Regions from separate parts of the Homo sapiens genome. Here regions 1, 2, 4 and 5 are each linked to region 3. The links are contacts of gene promoters, found by promoter capture Hi-C in blood cells and fetal thymus (Javierre and others, 2016). All regions are on one chromosome and are shown on one strand. Each heading gives the region's core, a stretch centred on a gene start or on the middle of the fragment in contact. The rest is flanking DNA. Distances are from core to core; before and after follow the strand shown.

What was found. The method cuts DNA at HindIII sites, captures the fragments that hold promoters and counts their contacts. A CHiCAGO score of 5 or more calls a contact.
Region 1: a fragment that was not itself captured here is called in contact with the fragment with the promoter of CHST2 in region 3 in 1 of 17 cell types (fetal thymus); the score reaches 8.2 in fetal thymus.
Region 2: a contact is called between the fragment with the promoter of SLC9A9 here and the fragment with the promoter of CHST2 in region 3, in 2 of 17 cell types (total CD8 T cells and non-activated CD4 T cells). The highest score is 6.9, in total CD8 T cells.
Region 4: a contact is called between a fragment that was not itself captured here and the fragment with the promoter of CHST2 in region 3, in 1 of 17 cell types (fetal thymus). The highest score is 6.0, in fetal thymus.
Region 5: a contact is called between a fragment that was not itself captured here and the fragment with the promoter of CHST2 in region 3, in 1 of 17 cell types (erythroblasts). The highest score is 5.3, in erythroblasts.

What each region holds. Positions count from the first base shown.
Region 1 is chr3:143,762,072-143,764,771 of GRCh38, reverse strand. All of the region lies in intron 4 of SLC9A9 (solute carrier family 9 member A9), which reads left to right. Among named protein-coding and RNA genes, the nearest start is that of SLC9A9, 85 kb to the left of the region's middle. The HindIII fragment of the contact is 1,171 bases long and covers 714-1,884 here.
Region 2 is chr3:143,847,131-143,849,830 of GRCh38, reverse strand. It overlaps SLC9A9 (solute carrier family 9 member A9), which reads left to right and starts at 1,363. Exons shown (of 16, transcript NM_173653.4): 1 at 1,363-1,683. The coding sequence starts at 1,509. The HindIII fragment of the contact is 4,941 bases long and covers 1-2,700 here.
Region 3 is chr3:143,118,321-143,121,020 of GRCh38, reverse strand. It overlaps CHST2 (carbohydrate sulfotransferase 2), which reads right to left and starts at 1,250. Exons shown (of 2, transcript NM_004267.5): 1 at 480-1,250; 2 at 1-377. The coding sequence starts at 204. RefSeq lists silencers at 1-67, 128-327, 388-467, 518-567, 598-647 and 1 more and enhancers at 1-534, 858-907, 1,193-1,692, 1,888-2,017, 1,693-2,194. The HindIII fragment of the contact is 4,891 bases long and covers 1-2,700 here.
Region 4 is chr3:143,678,502-143,681,201 of GRCh38, reverse strand. All of the region lies in intron 5 of SLC9A9 (solute carrier family 9 member A9), which reads left to right. Among named protein-coding and RNA genes, the nearest start is that of SLC9A9, 170 kb to the left of the region's middle. The HindIII fragment of the contact is 2,203 bases long and covers 150-2,352 here.
Region 5 is chr3:143,636,995-143,639,694 of GRCh38, reverse strand. The region is part of intron 6 of SLC9A9 (solute carrier family 9 member A9); the gene reads left to right. The region is part of intron 1 of LOC102724120 (a long non-coding RNA gene); the gene reads right to left. Among named protein-coding and RNA genes, the nearest start is that of SLC9A9, 210 kb to the left of the region's middle. The HindIII fragment of the contact is 1,845 bases long and covers 464-2,308 here.

The DNA.
Region 1 (2,700 bases), core at 50-2,549, 640 kb before region 3:
GACCCGATCTTTACAAAAGATAGATAGATAAATAAATAAATAAATAAAATAGTTGGGTATGGTAGTGCATGATGTAGTCCCAGTTATTTGGAAGGCTGAATAGGAGAATCACTTGAGTTCAAAGCTACAATGAGCCATTATCACACCACTGCACTGTAGCCTGGGCAACAGAGCAAGACCCTGCCTCAAAACCAACAAACAAACCCAGACATAATGAAGAAAAGATACAAAATTCAGGGAAGGAATTCTTAGCCTTTCTAGATCACTGGGGTGGCCACATGAGGTGGTGACTGTGCATCTAATAGTTTTCCAAAAGTTACTCTGAGGGCAGCAGTTGGCACTGCTTGTGGGAATATAAGTTGAATTGCATATATTACATTCCAAGGACGGAAAGAATTAGAAGTGTTCTATCTGGAAAGTGATACGCTATCATTGAAATTTCTCCAGTCTGCTGCACAGAAATAGGGTATGTTCACCCTGAGAAGCAGATGGGTGGGGGCATGACATAGACAGCATGACTTATTATGACTCTTTGACATAACTGAGAGAGCTCACATTGTATGTTATATACCTCAACAACTTTCTCCATCAGACTCTTGATGAGAATTAACAACTAGAAGAAAAATGGCTTTTCCTGAGGTTTTTCCTTTCCCTTTCCTTACCCTGTCAGAGTGGATTTTTTAAAAAAGAAGTGAAATTCTATAATATAAGCTTGGGAAAGAGAAGAAGGAAGAACCCAGTTATCCCTGTAAACAAAATGACATGTGATGGTCTTTCATGGTTTGGAGACCTTAGTAGAGACTGACCTATTAATGGTAACCCAGGAAATATGGATTCTCCTAGTTAAAAAGAAGCAACACACACTTATCATATTAGACTCTCAATAAATGCATGTGTGTAGAAAAAAAATTATTTGTCTTATTTAATGGCCCTATCCCCAACTTTCCAGGACTAAGAGATTTTACAACAGAGTTCTCACCTTAAAGATTCCACTAGATGGAGATCCTGAGCCATATTCCATGGTTTATGACAAAAAGAAATGTGAAAAAAAAAAAAATCAAACATTTTATTTTGCTTTTTGCTTCATTTTTCTAGCTTTTTTTGAAAGACTGCAGAGTAGAATTACTTACTGGTTGGTATATTAAAGAAAATCTGGCATGTACAAACAAGTTCTTCAAAGGTTTTTAGTAACACCTATCACAGGAGGCTGAATTGATACCAGAAACCAGGAGTGTACAAATCCATGATGGTATTTTATTATCAAAGAGAACTGGAAGGGGCTTGTGCTTTTCTTTAAAATCACAGTGACAAAATAACACATCAATTATTTGAACTGATTTGTTTATAATGACATTTACCTTAACTCAGATGATTGGATTCTGTCAACTCAAAATTCCTTTGTTCCTAGTCTAGTAAATAAGATAAAGTCAAGATGAAAAAAGTAGAGGGATGTAAATTTCTAAGGCTGTGAACTAAATGGCTCTTGCTATAATTACTGACAGATATTTGAATGCCATTGTGGGTTGACTCTCATGCATGTCACCTGGGTTCTGAAGGAAGAGGGTCATGAACTCCTTTGGTCATAAGAACATATGCATTTCCAGTGCTGCACACTGGGTAAGAGAGCCACTAGAAGCTGCCACCAAAAGCCTAAGCAGTGGGGCTAGCTGGCTCTTCTACAGACATATAAGGACTCTCCAGGATGTCATGAAGACCTTATGGCCAATAGTTCCATCGCCTCCTCTTTTTCACAAATGGAGTCCAAAGGCCCCACCTGAGTGAATGGCAGAGCCTGGACCAGAAGTTCCCCTCCCAATGCCTGGCATTCCGCTGATTGCTTCCCACTGTTTGTCTGAGTTGATCTGAGTTCTTCCATGAAAAGCTTAACTTCTAAGGTTATGAAACCTGTAAAAGTCAGCCACACAGCCTTCTCAAAGGGGTAGGATGTAAAGGGATTTACATCAGGGAGACCAGCAGAATCAGAGGACAGTGCCACACTGGCCATATATTGTGGGACTCTTGTTCTTCAGGCCTCAGTATATTCGTCTGAAAATTGAGGAGGGTGGAGAAGACAATCTCCTTGTGCTGTGTTCATACACAGGTGTATCAATTGCTCTGGCAAGCTCAGATAAACTTGAGAAAATAATTCTAGGTAGTTTTATTGCCTCTGTCTCCCTCAAAATAACATAGTTCACTTGGGGAAATTGCTTTGGTGATCACCACACTACTAAAACAACCCATTACAAAGATTTATTTGGGAATATAGAAGTTAATCTTCCATCAGGGGCTATTTTAATTATTTGTTAAGGATTCCAGTTGAATTCTATTGTAATGAAATTGGTAGGCCATCAAAATAACCCAAATACCATTCTACAAAGAAAAGATGTATTTAGATATTAGGTATGATGGTGGTGGTTATTATTATTATTATTTTATACTTTAAGTTCTAGGGTACATGTGCACAACGTGCAGGTTTGTTACATATGTATACATGTGCCATGTTGGTGTGCTGCACCCATTAACTCGTCATTTACATTAGGTATATCTCCTAATGCTATCCCTTCCCCCTCCCCCAACCCCACGACAGGCCCCAGTGGGTGATGTTCCCCTTCCTGTGTCCAAGTGTTCTCATTGTTCAATTCCCACCTATGAGTGAGAACATGCGGTGTTTGGTTTTTTGTCCTTGCAATAGTTTGCTGA
Region 2 (2,700 bases), core at 114-2,613, 730 kb before region 3:
TTGTTTCAGGACGCATTTGGGCTCAGCCTACTCAATAAGAAATCACATTGTATAAATTGAGCATTAATTGTGTCAAAATGGGGATCATAAGTGATTAATACTCCCAAATTACAATGATATGGTAAAATGAAAAAAAAAATCAGCTAACCCCAGGATATACCCAAATGTGTTATAGGATCAAGTGTTAAAAGCAAGCAGGTCATAATATTTGCTAAGAAAAAAGAAAGAAAAGGAAAAAAAAGCTGCAGAACCCATGGTATTATCTTGAACTATTTTAAAGTAGAAAAATATGAAATCAGACAGGAGCAACCTGCCACATGGAAGATGATCTGAAGAATCATCACTCTTATGATCAGAATCCTGTGAATACAGAGCTTTCATTTCTGGTGGCAGAACCATTTCTCAGTGAGCAACATTGTTTTGCCATAGGACAGAGGAGGTTGTGATCTATTGCAGATTTCTGTGGGTCCTGGATGCCGAGACCAGGAACCCTACAAAGAGAAATCCATGCATGTGGCGTTGCTGAGGATGGCTGCGTGAGTTTCTCTTTCGAAGTAATGTGTTTTGTTTTTTTTCTTTTTTGTCTCAACGTATCCAAACAGTACAGTTGTAGAGATGGGGATGGAATTTTATTTGTCTTTTGCTTTCATTGTTTTCTCTTGTTAAAAGAAAAACAATTGATTTAGAGTTTAAAGGCTGCTCTGCAACTATCAATTATATAAAGCCAAATAGAGTCATATACTAAATCCTTTCTTGCTTCTCAACTAAAAAAAAAAAAAAAAAATCCTGTGAAATCACTTTAGGTTTGCTTAACCAATGTACAGTCATGATTTGAGAGCATAAGAAACCCTATAAGAAACCCTATGCCTTAAGTGAATCCCATTGTGAGATACTTGAGCTATGAGGCGGAAGTTTCAGGCTAAGCAGTGTAATATCTTTTCAGGAGGCTAATATGCTGATCCATTTAGAGCACAGAGGCTGATTGATAACTGTGCTATCAATCCCCATCACTTTGGCAGGTCTTGGTTAGAGAGGAAAGATCTTGCATTTAGGTGAAGTTGAGTCAGGAATTGGCTTTTTGAACTTAGAAAACGTTGCTAGTGTAAGGCTACCTTTTTTATTATTAATCTACAGTTCATATTTATGCAGCTTAAGAAGACTTATTTGGAATAATAAGACCGTGATTCAAGATCTTAGCATCATTGCTTGCAGATTTGTCCAGTATGAAAGATATTTTCATGAGATGAATCACTTAAAGACATTAAGAGTCAGTGATGAAACCACACACTCTCGAGTTTGAAAAGAGACAGGGCTGCTTTAAGAGAGAAACAGGAAGTTGTAACTAGAAGCCATCTGAATACTAAGCCAGGGCAGAATGCTTGTGAAGTAGCAACTAAAGTGGCAGTGTTTCTTCTGAAATTCTCAGGCAGTCAGACTGTCTTAGGCAAATCTTGATAAAATAGCCTTTATCCAGGTTTTTATCTAAGGAATCCCAAGAAGACTGGGGAATGGAGAGACAGTCAAGGGTTATGTCAGAAAAGGATGAGTATCAGTTTCAACATCAGGGAGCGGTGGAGCTGCTTGTCTTCAATTTTTTGCTCATCCTTACCATTTTGACAATCTGGTTATTTAAAAATCATCGATTCCGCTTCTTGCATGAAACTGGAGGAGCAATGGTGTATGGTGAGTGCATAAATTGTGAGATTGATGTGAAACTTGTTGCTTGAGCGTAATTAGAGACTTGTGCTCAGATAGCAAAGTACCGAAACTGGAGAAAATGTGCTGATTGAAATGTCATTAGTTTGATGAAAGGTGCTGCAGCGTAACGAATGCTAATCTCTTTACAGACAAGCCGCCGAAATTTGCCATGTCACGAGAGCAAATGTCACAGTCATGTTCTCACACGGCACATAATGCAAGTCTGTTGACAGATGCGGGTCCATTGTCATGTGGGGAGTCGAGGGCGAGCTGTTTGTTTTTGTAATGATGTTGGGAAGTGATGGCTCTGCAGTCACAAAGAGCAGCCTTCTCTCACTGGCTGCACCGATGAACATTACGAAGTTCTAGAAAAAACATCACTTCAAAATGCCTGGAGTAATTCCTCTTATATCAACTAATTTCAAGAAGAAAACTTGCAGAAACTAACCCCACCCCTCTTAAGAGAATATTGTGTCCAAGTCCTTTTTATTTATACGAACAGTGTCTTATTTTCTTATAATAAAAAGTTATAAATAAACGAGAGTTTCTTTATGCAGTACTTTTTACTTCTTAGCCTGATTTCAGATGTTCTAATTTATAATGATCATTGCTAGTGTTATTTGTTATGTATCTCCTATTTATGTATTGGAGGCCAAGGTGTGGAAAAATATTTAACACCTGCAGTATTGCTCTTTCTGGGCAACTTACCGTATCATTCCTTTCAGAAAGTTTAATAAAGTCTGACAGAGATTATCTGTCTGTACTCTCATCTTTTAAAGTAAAATGAAAGACACCAGTTTTTACTGGTGTTACTGATGAAATAGTTTACTTCACTGCTCTTATCTCAGCCTGATAATGGATAGGAAGTTTGAACACAATGGCAACAGGCAAGGCATTGCTATAATTTATAGCAAATAACATACTTTTATATTTGGGGTTTCCTCATTTTGGAAATCCTGAAACCCTTTCCTAAGCCTGAGATTCAGGGTACAGATCAATGCA
Region 3 (2,700 bases), core at 1-2,500:
GAGCACCAGCAGCAGTGCATAGCCCGCGCACAACACCAGCGCCTTCCTACGGAACACCTTCATTCCGAGAGGGGACGCGGGCCAGCGGCGTCCTGGGCGCCGGGGCCACTGCGGGAGCAGGGCACGCGGCGCGGCTGCAGGCGCAGCCTGGAGCAGCCGAGGGAGCGCGCCCGGGGGCAGAGCTCGCTGCGGGCTGCGGCTCATCACAGGCACAATCCGGGCCGGCGGCGCGGCGGAGGCAGCCCTGCAGCCCGGGAAGGGGACGCAGCGGGCTGGCTGCTGGCGCCGGGACTCGGGCCGCGACTCCGAGGCGGGCGCGGCGGCTGGTCCCCAGCGCCCAAGGCTGGCTCTCCCATGGCAGCGGCTCCGGGTAGGACCTGCGAGGGGAAGCGGAGTGAGCGGATGCGCCCCAATCTCCCTCCCAGCCTCCTCCTCCTAAGTAACGCCCACCCTCGGTTCTGCCCGGTTCCTCCGCTCACCTGGAGCCGAGGGCGCGCCCGGGAGCGGCCCCGGATCACCGCCCGGCGGACTGTCCGGCTGTCACTCGTTCCTCGATTTCGCTCCCTCTCGCTTCCGCTGGGGGTCCCCGCACCTTCGAGGGGTCTGGGGAGTCGGCCGACTTATCCCTGGGCAGTTTCCGGGCAGCGGGCGCCCTGCGGCTCGGGAAGAAAAACTTTCACGCGGCCCAGAGCCCCGCTCCGCGCTCCGCCGAACCCGGCGCCTCCCGGCTCCAGCGACGTCTCCTCCGCTTTCTCGGGACCGCAGCTTCCTGTCTCGCTCAGGGGAACGAAGCCGGCTGGGGGCGATGGCTGGGGGCGGCTTATATGGGACTCAGCTCCCGGCATAGCGGCGCAGCCCCTCTCGCTTTCGGCCTCCGTGCGGCGAATTTTCCCACCTCTCTGGCAGCGGTGGATGGGGCACAGCGCGACCCCGCAGCGGCGGCGGCGGCTGCTTCCATCACCGGGAGGATGCCCGGGCGGACAGCGCAGGCAACCCCCGCCGCTCCGCAGCCTCCGACTGGACCAAAGGACCCCGAACACACAGCTCTAGGCAAGGAAACCCAGGTGTGCAGCACTGCCCGACCCGACCCAACCCGCCCCCGGTACCAGCGCTTCTGGCCAACGAGGTATTTAAGCAAAGAAAGACCCCGCCGCAGCCGCCGCCGCCGCGCGAAAGCGGCGCCCAGGAGGATGCTGCTACCCGACTCCCCTTACGCCGGGCGCCCGCAACGCGCTCGGACCAGCCTCTGCGCGGCTCCTGCCAGCCGGCGCCCGGTTGGTGCGCGCCGCCGTCTGTCGCCGCGGCTCCTCCCCTCCGCCGCGCAGCCCTCCCCCTTCGCCGGCCCCGCCCCCGCCCCCAACGCCGAGCCGGCTCCCACCGTCGCTGCGCCTCGGGGGCTGGAGACGCGACCCGCTTTACCGCGACGCGCGGGGGCTGCAGTCCACGGGTCCGAAGGCTTAGCTCTGCGCGCAAAGCGCCGGGATGCGAACGCGGGATCTGGAGCTCGTCGGTGCCGAGAGCTGCCAGAGAGTTGGATTCTGCGTGCAGCTGCCGGACTCGGCCCCATGTTTTTGCTCTCAGAAAGAGTTGGTGATGAAGTTTGGGCAGAAATCCCCTGTCGGCCGTCCGCTCCACGCTTCCCTCGGGGCCGACACTGCCAACCTCTCCGGGCACTGAGGACACCTCTGCGCCCTGGAGCGGTGGGAGGACGCGGAGCGCCGTTCTCTGGCTTCCGACACCCTGCCCGCCCTCTCTAGTGGGTCTGTGGCTGCGCCCTCTCGAAGGAAGTAATAAATCTTTCTGACCTTGGGGGTCAGAGGAGACGCTTCAGTTTTCCGGAGGGGTGTGCGGGCGGGACCGTCTTTCCGCTTTACTGGACCTCTGGCCGGGGCTGCTCTTGTTTCATTGTGCCCCACATGCGGAGCCCCGATGCTCTCCGCATTTCCGCTCGCGGTGCTGCGTCCACTGTGATTGACGTCCTCTGGAATTGGGGTGATGGGGGAGGGGAACGCCCCGTTCTAATTTGCAGAAAAATACTTGTCCCGCTTCTTGGTTTTGTAGATGAGATCAAAGAACTTGACCCCAAAGGAAACACCGTTGTTGAAAGAAAATCATTTTTCAGTTGCTTTAGGTTTAAGTACTTTTGTTTAAGGTTATGAGGAAAAGCGTCTCTCTCTCCCCCCAACTCCCTCCCTCCCCAAGAACACTAAGCTGTAGCCTCAACTTCATCTGTAGAATGGGGACAGTTGTAACAGCCTCCGGAGACTGAACGGTGGTTGAGTATCAGAGCGCGCACACGAAAGGTTAGACCTGAGTTCAGGCCTCCAAGTGCCGAAAAGGGAATCTCCGTGGGGCCTGAGGCTCAGCACCCTCGGATAAACAGAGCTCTCGCTGATCCGGAGTTTTGTTGCCTCCTGTCCCAGTAGAGTTTTTAGAAGTTACTGCACAATTATCTTTGTAGCGTTTCGGGCAGACTTTTCAGAGGACCGTTCTAACATTAAAATATTGCTGTTTGCGCCATTATTCTTCCATGAGTCTTACAGAATCCCCTGAGTACAAAGACTTGAAAAGTGACTTAACTCGCTTTCCACGGGTTTTTAACTCTCTTACGGATTTAGTTTCAGGGGAGAAAAATGTTCAAAAAACTTATTTATCCTTGTTTTCCAGAAAAACCCATAATGTCACGAGTACAGTTCAGCT
Region 4 (2,700 bases), core at 2-2,501, 560 kb before region 3:
ATAGAGGACTTGTTGCAAAGTTTATTTGTAGAAGAACTACAAAGAATAGTGCAGGCATCTGGAGCTTGGGAGTAGCCAAACAGTTATCACTCTTAGGTTCAAAGCAACAAGAGGAGAGAGTGGTCATTAGAATTCAGTGGGAGAAAGCTTGTGGAATATGTCACCTGGTGGAGAGCGATAACCTGTTCAGGGACACTTTTAGTTCAAGGTAGCATTTCAGGGGGAAAATGTCAGGGAATAAATACCTAAGTCTTCCTTTCTGCCCCTCCTCTGATATCTTCTGGGGCTTCTCATTGGCCAAATCCAATGAGAAGCTAGAGGGCATGGGAACTTATTGATGTAGTTCACGTGGTCAGTGTCCCAAAGCAGAGAATGTGTAAAGGGAAAAATAGAAGATACTGGCATAGAAGTTCTAGCAAATTCGGTAAGAAAATGAAAGAAAATAAAACATCACATAAAAGTAGAAATTAGGAAATAAAGCTGCCATTTTTGTTGATGTTACTCTATTCTAAAAAACTATTAGAATTAAAAACGAAATTTTGTGAGGTGCCCGAGTATAAGATAAATATACAAAATCCAATAGCATTTAAAAAATTTAGCAGCAAGTTTCTAGAAATAAAATTCAATATCTATAAAACTTACAACTATTTGATACTAATTTTAATAAAGAATAAAGGTATAATATTTTAAGGGATATAAAATGTAAAACAAGATATGAACAAATGAAAAGTCATGCTCTAGAATGGGAAGATTTAATTATGGACATACTTTATCTTTTTCTTCCTCCTAGATTTTTTTCATGGAGTACTTTTTAAACAATGAAAAACTTTAGCAAACTATATAATCCCTGTTACTTTTCATAAACCTTCCAGCAGTTTCTAAATTTTTCATTCTATTTGAATACATCATTCAAAAATGTTTTTAATGTCAGTTTATGTGTGACATTCTTTCCAAAGCCTTGTATGCCTGAAAAATTTTAATTATACCCTCATATTCAATAGCAATTTGTTTAGACATAAAAGTATAGATTCAAAGTTATTTTCTTTTTTATTCTCTCAAATATTTATTTCTCTTCATTTTTATTTTAATCTAGTGGTACTCGTATTATCTATATGTTGCACCTCTATTTTTATCTCTCATGTCTCCTAACATTTTAAAATTGTACTTTTATCTCTTCAATCTGTCTTGCTTCCTGCTGGAGGAGTTCCTCAATCAGGTTTCCCATTATCTAAATTATTTCTTCAGTTGTATCCATTATCCTATTTATTCCATCTGTTATAATTTTTTTCTGCTATGTTTTTCATACCTGATATTTCCTTTTATTTAATTTTCTTCTGTCTCTTTAAGTGTATTTAGTATACTTATTGAAAATGTTTTATGTATCTATTCTAATACTTCCGTTTTTTGTTTGTTGATTTTCTCTAAGTTGTCATAACCCTCAGGTGTCTAGCTATTTTTCACTTTTGCTCATGTTCCTTTAGGAGTATCAACTATTGAATTGGCAATACGTATTGGAGAAGGGCCTCAAAACTACAGTTATCATTTTCATTTGCCGTCATCCCACTAACCCAGGGTAGTGATGTTAAGCCTCAGAACACATTAACTGTGGAGACATTTTTTGCTAGTTACAGCTGGGGGAATGCACTACTGGCATTGGACGGGTAGAGGGCAGGGATGCTGCTAAACTTTGAAAACGCACTAGACGGCCCCCAACTGCAGGTAATTGTCTGGTCTAAAATATCAATAGTGCCAAGGTTGAGAAACCCTGCCTAGCCAACTTCTCAGGTTGGGGTTTAGGCCCTAAGGGAGAAGCAACATTGATAATCCATCAGCCTAGGATTTGTAGGGAAAGAGAATGCCTAAGGCTGCTCAGTCTCTACCTGTTCTTATCAACTCCTTACCTCACAAAACCTTTTGCACTGATCCTGACATTTCCCCCATGAACACCTGCCCCAGTGTTTAGCCAGTTGTGCATGCTTTGTGTGGCAAGGAGCTAAGCAATGATTACTCCATGGAAATGCAAGTAAGCCAAATGGCAGAGCTTAAACAGTTTTTGTTTGTTTGTTTGTTTGTTTTCCTAATTTGCTTTTTTTTACTGCTGTGTGTAGCCGCCCATTGCCAGATTTGCTGCACTCTTCCCACCCCCCTCACCTCTTTCCCACCCCTCTCACCTCTTTCCCACACACATCAATCCAAAACAGTGCTCCTTCTCCCTGGGGATTTCTCATGGCTTTTGTTGTTATTAGTTTCAATTCCACTTTTCTCTATATACTTTCTTCATCATTGACTTTGTGGAGGAAAGCAGTAGCCGATGCTATTATAGTTCACCATCTTGGTGATGAGAAGAAAGCTTTCATGAAAATTCTACTTTCCTCCAATTCATACAAAAATTTAAGGTAATTTCAATGAAAACTTACCACTTTAAACATTGAAACTGGATAAAATTATCTTAAAGCTTATAAAGTGGAATAAAACCATGAGGTAACCTACCTAATCAGATGTAAGAATATACTACAATGCCATTATAATCAAATCAGTGTGGTATTGGCCTAGGAAGCACAAGACCAGTAAAAAATAATAGATGATCCAGACACAGATTTCATTGAAAAATGATAATCTGACAGAGGTGGTCTTTCAATTCAATGGGGAAATGATGGTTTATTTAACAAATGGTACTAGCACAATTCACTGGCTATCCAT
Region 5 (2,700 bases), core at 137-2,636, 520 kb before region 3:
TGAAATTTTGAAGTGCTTGGTAATGACCTCCTAAATCCATACCAACATTCAGGATAATTAAAAACTGCTCACTTTTAGTAAGATGATAAAATTTGGCCCTCTCAGTACTACACAAAGCTGGGAAGAAGACTAGCAGTGTTTGATTCTGTGATTCTTTTATGACTACCCAATCCTTTTTCTAATTGATACAGTATACTTTTGTCATGATGCATCAGTGTCATTTGTCTCTAATGTCCTTTAATATCTGGTCAGGGGTTGATAGTGATTCCCTCTCATTCCCTCTGTTGTAACCAGAGGCATGAATGCCCATGCTAGTGCCTACTAACAGATAGTAGTTGATAGCTAGGCATCAGGCTGTCTATGAGAAGAACCAATCTTGACTTCTGCCTCATGCAAGGAAAGATTTCCAAAGGTTGCCACACTCGCTTCTAATAACATAATCTAAAATACTGCATACTAAGCTTTTGGGTCAGAAGTCAAGAGTTAAAGGAAGCTATGGCTCTCACTTCAGGGGGTGGAGGGTAGGTGCAGCTAAACAAAAAGACAAAACTCTATAAATAGTTTTGGGGCTCTGAATTAAGAATTTTTCATCCAAAGACATATTTTCTTTCTAATACACTTAAACCTGACTTCTCATTCTGAACAACCAAGAAAATGTCTTTTATTTCAGGTGACCAAGTCTGGATTTTTTCTAAGAAAAAACTTTCCAGAGAACAAGGGGCCAAATCAATATGCAATAATAATTTTGGTCTAAATTAAAAGCTCTCTCTTGGCCTGGAGAATATAATCTGCTCATATTACTTGAGCTTTGTAATGAATTTACAAGACAGGCTTATTGCCAGTTTTATGTGGGCTCTGCCTTACTGGGGCATGGGATGCTTAGGGAATCTGATTAAAACCTTGGGAAAGAGCAGCTGTTCAGCAATAGAGGGTGAATTCAGGGCCCATTTTTCTGTGCCTGACTGCAGGGCCTGACACCCTTGCCAGCTATTGGAAGATAAATGAACTGTCTTTGAATGCCTAGCTCCCTTGTTAATAGCTTTAAAATATTGGTTGTTTATGGGAAAGAAGTCAGGAGCTCTTATCAATTTTCCTGCCCCAGGGGTCCTCAAATATATCACTTTTCCCGTTGCCAGAATGGCAGGCAGTATTGAAGGAAAAAGGAGGAAATTCTTTCACCATTTAGAAGTTCTTCATGGATTCACAGCAAGAGTTTCTCATTTCAAAAGTTAGAGTGAATGCCCACTAAATTATTAGATGAAATAACTCACATAGAATTTAGACTCCCCTCTTCCTGGCATTATCCTGCAATATCAGAATCATGATGTAGTTTCATCTGTTTTTTCTAAAGGCAATTAATTCAAATTGGATATATGAAAGTCAAATTCTAAAGTCTGTGCCAAATGGCTTATTTTCAGAATGGCAGTTAAATGGTCAAATTTGATCTAATGACATTAAGGTGAGCATGCTATATTTTGGGCCATTAAATTAAATTCTTACCCTAATGTGTTTTGAGGTTTATCCTTTTTCATTTTTACCCCCCATTCCCATTCTCACCCGCCTACTTTGCTTTTTATGGAACTCAGAAAAACTTCTTGGCAGAGTTAATTCTTACTTATGTAACAGTTGACTATTTAAATTTTCAGATATTGTTTATTGTTCTTATAGCTGTTCACTTTTAGCCTTTTCATTAGCATAACTTATAAGAAAAAGTTAGGAAAAGTAGAAAAATATATGCATGTATGCAGTTGGCTTTCTTTTCATTAGTAATTCTAATACAAGTTTTCATGGAAAAACTTTAATCTTAGAACATAACCTCAGATGTGGAAAGTATGTGTTTTACTTCTCCATGGAGAAGTAAAGGTTGGGTTGGCAGTCTGGATTCTGACTTTATTATTTACTAGTTTTATACCAATGAGCAAGTCAGTCAACCTCTTTAAGTTGGTTTTCTCATTTCATCAAGATGGCAACTTTAGTATACATATCTATTCTCACCTTTAAAAAATAAAAACCTGTTGAGATTTTAGATGTCAGTTACGCTAAAGCTATAGATTATAAAAGCAAATAAGATCAACTTTAAGGGGAAACAACATTATAGAAAACTAAAGCCCAAAGCATATATACTTACTAAGGTGTATATAAATGGCTATTATATCTACAAAACAGGGATAAGCTGAAATTTGAAATATAAATCATAGAAATTCAAAATAGGAAAATCCATATTTATCAAAGCCTTTGTTCAGTTTTTACATTCTTTTTGCTTTATTTTTGTCTGAATGGGTTAATTTAAAAGATATGTAGTCAAGCTTTGAAATTTTTCTGCTTTGTCTAATCTATTGTTAAAGCTTTCAACTGTATTTTGTAATTCCATCTGTAAATTTTTCATTTCCAGAGTTTTGTGCTTTCTTTAAATATCTATCTCTGTAGTAAATTTTTCATTCATATCTTGAATTGTTTTTCAGATTTCTTTGTATTGGTTTTCAACTTCCCCTTGGATCTCGTTGAACTCCCTTATGATCCATATTTTGAATTCTTTATCTGTCATTTTAGAATTTTCATTTTGGATAAGATCCATCACTAGAGAGCTAGTGTGATCCTTGAGGGGTGTTACAACACTGTTTTTTCATGGTGACAGAATTGGTTGGTTCCTTCTCATCTGGAGAAACTGTCACTTCTTATTTTTGAATTTACATTCATTTT